Regions from separate parts of the Homo sapiens genome. Here region 1 is linked to region 2. Evidence: promoter capture Hi-C in human tissues and cell types (Jung and others, 2019). All regions are on one chromosome and are shown on one strand. Each heading gives the region's core, a stretch centred on a gene start or on the middle of the fragment in contact. The rest is flanking DNA. Distances are from core to core; before and after follow the strand shown. Region 1 overlaps ATL1 (atlastin GTPase 1). Region 2 holds the start of L2HGDH (L-2-hydroxyglutarate dehydrogenase).

Evidence for each region. Contacts are between HindIII fragments. The study calls those that stand out against the background at their distance.
Region 1: a fragment that was not itself captured here is called in contact with the fragment with the promoter of L2HGDH in region 2 in 1 of the 25 tissues and cell types used here (dorsolateral prefrontal cortex).

What each region holds. Positions count from the first base shown.
Region 1 is chr14:50,590,972-50,594,121 of GRCh38, reverse strand. ATL1 (atlastin GTPase 1) reads right to left here. Exons shown (of 14, transcript NM_015915.5): 3 at 3,047-3,150; 4 at 2,483-2,587; 5 at 226-276. Among named protein-coding and RNA genes, the nearest start is that of ATL1, 32 kb to the right of the region's middle. The HindIII fragment of the contact is 4,726 bases long and covers 1-3,150 here.
Region 2 is chr14:50,310,705-50,313,839 of GRCh38, reverse strand. L2HGDH (L-2-hydroxyglutarate dehydrogenase) reads left to right here and starts at 1,611. Exons shown (of 10, transcript NM_024884.3): 1 at 1,611-1,829. The coding sequence starts at 1,690. DMAC2L (distal membrane arm assembly component 2 like) reads right to left here and starts at 1,516. Exons shown (of 6, transcript NM_001382507.1): 1 at 1,451-1,516. RefSeq lists silencers at 1,132-1,361, 1,422-1,551. The HindIII fragment of the contact is 14,916 bases long and covers 1-3,135 here.

The sequences.
Region 1 (3,150 bases), core at 154-2,653, 280 kb before region 2:
TCCTGAGGCCTTTCCAGCCATGCTGAACTGTGAGTCAATTAAACCTCTTTCCTTTATAAATTAACCAGTCTCAGGCAGTAATTACCAGGCAGCTAATTGGGCCAATAGTTCCTGTTTAAACAGCAGAATCAGAATCTGATTATGTTTTGAAATCATTCCCCAAAGTTCTGCTATACATGTTTCAAAGACTACCAGATACACAAAAAAGAAAATAAATATTGTTACCTGGAGGTGCTGAAGATCATCCTCCTGGACATTTTGGGATAAGTTATATACCTTGATAAAGAAATAAAATTACAATGATAAGATAACTGGCATCATCCTAAGCACTTACTTCATCATTCCCTACTTTTAAAAATATCAGTTACCACAAAATGGACTCTCTTATGTACATGCTTACATGATATTTGTAAGACCTTGAGAGAGAAGTAAAATAAGCTTGAGAGACAATAAGGAATGAACAATGATTATAAAATGGTTCCAGAAATACAGTAGTCACCTGCTCTGGAGATGGAATATTAAAATTATTTTATGAACCTAATTTATGCAATTAGTCAAAAAAACTCATTCTTCCAAGCAAGACAAAATAATAACAATCTAAATCTCAGCAAGCCATATGGAAAATTTTGTTTTGAAAAATCATGTTGACTTCTTCACAATTAATCATTTTATTTATGTCTATACAGAGTTTCATCACATGGAAGTTAGGTTCTGAATATCATGCTCACATCCTTATATATATATGTGATAACAGCATTAAGATGACATTTTTTGAGGGAAATAAATATCATTAACTTCAAAGAAAAGTTAAGGAGGCTTATATATTTATGTACTGATATAAAAAGAATGCTCTGTATACTTATTTAAATAACAGATCATCATTTCTCACATAATTAAAAAAAGTCATTACTAAGGAATTAGCAGATTTTTCTCTGAAAATATTCAATGTATTCAGGTCAAATATAAATAATGAGTAATACTGATAAGGCAAAGTCAATCTGGTTTAAATAGGCTTGTATAAGTATGGCTTACACTGTGAATTACAATAAATTAGATTAAGTCAGTATTTTAAAGGCTTATACAATGTGTGTATTCAAAATATCATATTGTACATTATATATATACAGATATATGTACACACATATATATATAATTTACACACACACACACACACATATATATATATATATATTTTTTTTTTTTTTTTTGAGACGGGAGTCTCGCCCTGTCACCCAGGTTGGAGTGCAGTGGCGCAATCTCGGCTCACTGCAAGTGCTCTGCCTCCTGGGTTCACGCCATTCTCCTGCCTCAGCCTCCCGAGTAGCTGGGACTACAGGCGCCTGCCACCATGCCCGGCTAATTTTTTGTATTTTTAGTAGAGACGGGGTTTCACCGTGTTAGCCAGGATGGTCTCGATCTCCTGACCTCGTGATCCGCCCGCCTCGGCCTCCCAAAGTGCTGGGATTACAGGCGTGAGCCACCGTGCCTGGCCAATATATATAATTTTTATTTGTCAACTGAAAGAAAAGTTAATTTTTAAAAGTTGATTAAGTAGGTTATAACCATGACTTTTTTTTTTATGACTTTTACTTTAAAGTCCTTTATTTAATAAATTCAGTCTTCCTTCCTCCTTCTGTTTACCCTGTCTTGGTTGTCCTAATCATATATGACGCCCTTGTTGCTGGTTCACTAGCTCCATTCTCTATGCTTGCTTGTAATTTTAGTCTTGACTCACTCATCCTAACTGCTTTGCCTTTTCTGCCTTTTTAAGCTATCTTACCTTTTTTTATTGATCTGCCCTGTTCCTTGGCCACTCTCTTTTTGCTTTTGCCAGTGGATTGAAAATATCTAAAAATAGTCTTAAAATCTTTTATGCTATGGATTCTATGGTTCTAATAAAACTCTACAAGGATTTTCAGGACAATTTAGAAAGCCCACAATAACCTCAAAAATAAGACTTTTAAAAAAGTGAAAGAAAAAAGGAAAGGAAAGAAAGATAAATTTTATATATAAGCTATTTACTTTCCTAAATGTACATTAAGGTGTTTTTAAAAGCTATGAACACATGTAAATGTTTTTACATTTAGAAATGTTTCTACTGGCTATGTAGAACAAAATTTATATTTATAAACACTGTTTCATTAAACATAACTTACAATAGATGGTCTCAATGTATACGCATATAAGATTTATGTTACTGAGTTTATTGTAGGCTTTAAACAACAACAACAAAAATCCCAATAAGATAATATGACCTTTTCTAACCAAAGCAGTCAATTTGAAAGTTTGTCAGTAATTAAACTACAGTAACAAAAACAATTCCACTCTCACAGAAATCACGAGAACTCGTATGCTAATTGAGTCAAACAATATATATGATTCCCAATTTCTGTTGTTTATCTAATTATAACATGTATGTAGAAACACATATACTCATAATTTTTAGTTAAAGAAACATCATCAAAATGGGCTTATTTCATACCTGTATTGAGCTGATCATTGTGCTAAGGGCAAATACTGTGGCTGAATCTCTCAAAGTTGACTGACTATCAAAGGTTCCCTGAGTATCCATCAATAACACTGCAACCTACAGGCAAGAAGAGTACATTATTGATATTTTATAGAACATCTAGGTCATTAGGGTTACCATAATATTAATATAAGAACTAAAGCAAACCATTATTAATCAATACTATTTTAGATAATTTCTTACACATGCCATGAATGCCACAGAAAATAAAAATATTAACAGCTGATTACTATTATAAGTAATTTTTACTAGTAATCCAACGTAACAGAAACTTTATGTAGCAGTGAAACAAAATACAGATGTTACTTGCTGATCTGCTGTTCTATCATCGTTATAATTTCGCCTACTCTGATCACAAGAAAGGGAAACAAAGATCATGCTATAGGATGCTACCCCACTTTAAGCTTCATGTCAAATGGTCAAAATTAATTTTCAAAAGTGCAACTTCAAGGATCCTAAAAAGTAGTAACTGTTATAAGTGAAAACTCAATTTTATTTAGGAAGTTAGCATCATACCTTTTTACCATCAGGTTTATTGATAAGGAAGATTTCACTCCATATCTGAATTCCTGTGGTCTCTCGCTCAGATCCACCTCTCCATGAAAAACCAGTCAATGGTT
Region 2 (3,135 bases), core at 362-2,861:
GACCTGGGCTGTACCTTGACTGTGGTGGTGGATACAAGAATCTACACACCTGATAACCATATAGAACTAAATATACACAGAGAACACTAATACAAAATGAGGAATCTGAATGAGATCAATGGATTGTGTGAATGTCAATTACCTGGTTGTGATATGGTACTAGTTTTGCAAGATGCTACCACTGGGAAGACTGGGTAAAGGGTACACAGAATCTCTATTCTTACAATTGCATGGAAATCCACAATTACCTCACAAAGTTGAATAACCATCTCTTTTTTTCATCTGTGATGGAACAAGCAGGCAATATTCTACATTGTTTTAACAAATAAAGCAAACTATGTACCACTGTTCTGGTGGTAAAACCCTTTAACCATAATAAATGTCATCACGTAGCAAATGCTTCACTGTGCTAAACACCTGCTGACCTTATCTCGTGTAATCCGCTCAACGGCCCTAAGACTAGGGAGACACTGCTATCATTCCTAGTTCACTGAGGAGGGTCTGAGGCAAAGAGGTGAAGTGATTTCCTGGAGCTACCTGACCAAAGACTGGAACCAAGATTCTTAGAGGCACACGAAGTCCTTCTGGTAATAAATCTGTATAATTCTATTTGTTATGTTCAGCTGTCCTAACCCTAAAAATTAAAAACTGCCATCAAGCATACAGAATGAGTGTTAGCAACACCGGCACAGTGACAATTTTAAAGAGTTAGAAGGTCCTTTAGAGATTACACAGCCCATCGCCCTCATTTTTACATAAAGGGAATCAGGTGAAGTGACCTGCACAGGTGAGTCGCTGCTCAGAGACCGCACAGCACATTTAAAACTGTATCTCGGTTCAGTACTCAAGAAAAGGACACAGACTTATAAATGGTGGCAAAAACCGAGCTGTCTGGTTCTTCCGGTACCCAGTGCCGGGTCGAGTACAGAGCAGGCGCTCCATATTTACAAGACGAATCAATGACTGAATGAATAGCACCGCCAGGAGCCCCATAAAAGAAGTCCAGAAGACTGCGGGCTGTCAGTCTTCGCTGTGACAAAGAGCCTCCGTGAGGAGCGAGGATTAGGGCCGGACAGGGAGCGCCCTTCTAGTGGACGCTCGACTGGGCTGGGGCCGGGATGGAGACGGTGGGTGCCCAGGCCCTCCGTCTACCGCGGGCCGCGTGCGGGGCCGAGCGAGGACCCGGCTGGAGCTGGAGCGGGGGCGGGGCGGGGGCGGGGCCGAGGGCGAGCCGGAAGAAAGAAGCCGCAGGGCCCGCCCAAACAAGAATTTTCACCGTAATCCCGCCCAGAGTTTCTCCCACGGCCCCATGTCCGCATGGCGGTGAAGGTCGAAGACGCGCGACCCAAAGGGCCAGGTTTTCAGTCAGCCCAGCGTTGGCGACGGGCGAGGGCAGAACACAACCACCACCCTAGTCCCGCCCGGCTCGGGGCCTAGCTTCTCTACTCACAGCGTCGGAGGGAGGGAGGGAGGGAGCGAGCCAGCGTCCCCGCGTCTGCGGCACCCTGGCCGGCCCTTCGCCCTCCGACGCGCGCGCCTATTGGCCACCGCAGCCTCTCCCACATGGGGCGAAGGCGCGCCACTTCATTGGCCCCCGCGTGAGGGGCGGGGCTAAAGAGCGCGGGTCCTCGGCCGTGGAGGGTCAAGTGGCTTCTTCTGAGCGCTGAGGGAGGGGAGCGTGCGTAGGGGATGGTGCCAGCGCTGCGTTATTTGGTTGGTGCCTGCGGACGGGCCCGCGGGCTTTTCGCCGGTGGCTCCCCTGGGGCGTGCGGGTTCGCGTCTGGGAGGCCAAGACCGCTGTGTGGAGGTAGCCGCAGCGCCAGCACCAGGTGAGTGGCCGCTGGTCCTCCCCGCCGCCTGCGCTGCTGCCCCTCGCGGAGGCACCTGGTGGTGGACCTGTGCCCCTGTTCGTATTTCCCTGTCCCGGGGTGAGAGCAGGTTGGGGTCCTGTGGCACTCCAACCTCGGATCCCAGGAGCTACCAACCTGCAGGTTCATTCGTTGTATTTACGGGCCGGAGGAAAGGCAGTGTATAGAGTAGAGGTCGGGAGTAGCTCTGGCTTTGAACAACCCGTCCACTTTCTGTTGAACTCTGGGCTAGTTACTTAACCTCCTTAAAGGCTCAGTTGTGAATTGGACCTTAGTCTCTCCTGTAGGTGGTCATTTGAAGGATAAAAGGACCTAGCACACAGTATAAGCAATCAAATATGCTCTTTATAAGCTGGAGTCTTTGGCGTTGCTTGGAAGATCTGAATACAGTCTTAAATCAGTTCCTGGCACACCCCGCATAGTGTTGCCCCCGTCGGAGGCAGCTCTTATGCTAATGAAAGCCCGCAGAATTCAGTGTCCTGTGATTTATAGTTTGGACGTCACATTCGAAACCATTGTCTTTCTCTGTCCTCTGTAGAAGAAACAGTTTGTGTGAAGGCTGTAAGGCTTGGAGAGGTTTTGGCTATTTTGACGACTAGAAGGTGGGCCATATGAGTGTGACTGAAGTTTAGTGGAAGACATATGGTGTGGAATGACCCAGAAGGACTACATCACAGCAAGGTTTTTAGTTTATTTTAACCACACGTTGACTTTTATTCTAAGAGCCACGGGAAGCTATTTAAAAGGGTTTTAAGAAGAGGCTACGCTTTAGGAGGCCGAGGCGGGCGGATCGCCTGAGGTCAGAAGTTGGAGACCAGCCTAACCAACATGGTGAAACCCCGTCTCTACTAAAAATACAAAAAAATTAGCCTGGCGTGGTGGTGGGCGCCTGTAATCCCAACTACTCCGGAGCCTTAGGAGAATCGCTTGAACCTGGGAGGCGGAGATTGCAGTAAGCTGAGATCGCACCATTGCACTCCAGCCTGGGCGACAGAGCAAGACTCTGTCTCGCAAAAAAAAAAAAAAAAAAAAAAAGAAAAGAAAAGAAAAAAAGAAGAGGCTAATAATTAAATGTTGATGTTCTAAAAGTTGACTCTGGCTGCTGCGTGTTGGTGGATAGGGGGAGTAGAGTGGGATACCAGTAATAGCGATTGTGATTTGTTATGGGGCATGTGGACAGTTCTTTTGGGAAGCTTTTCTTAAGGAAAGAAAAGTAGGGCTAGTGAAAGTTTTGTTTATACTTAAAATGTTTTTTTAAAAAATTTTT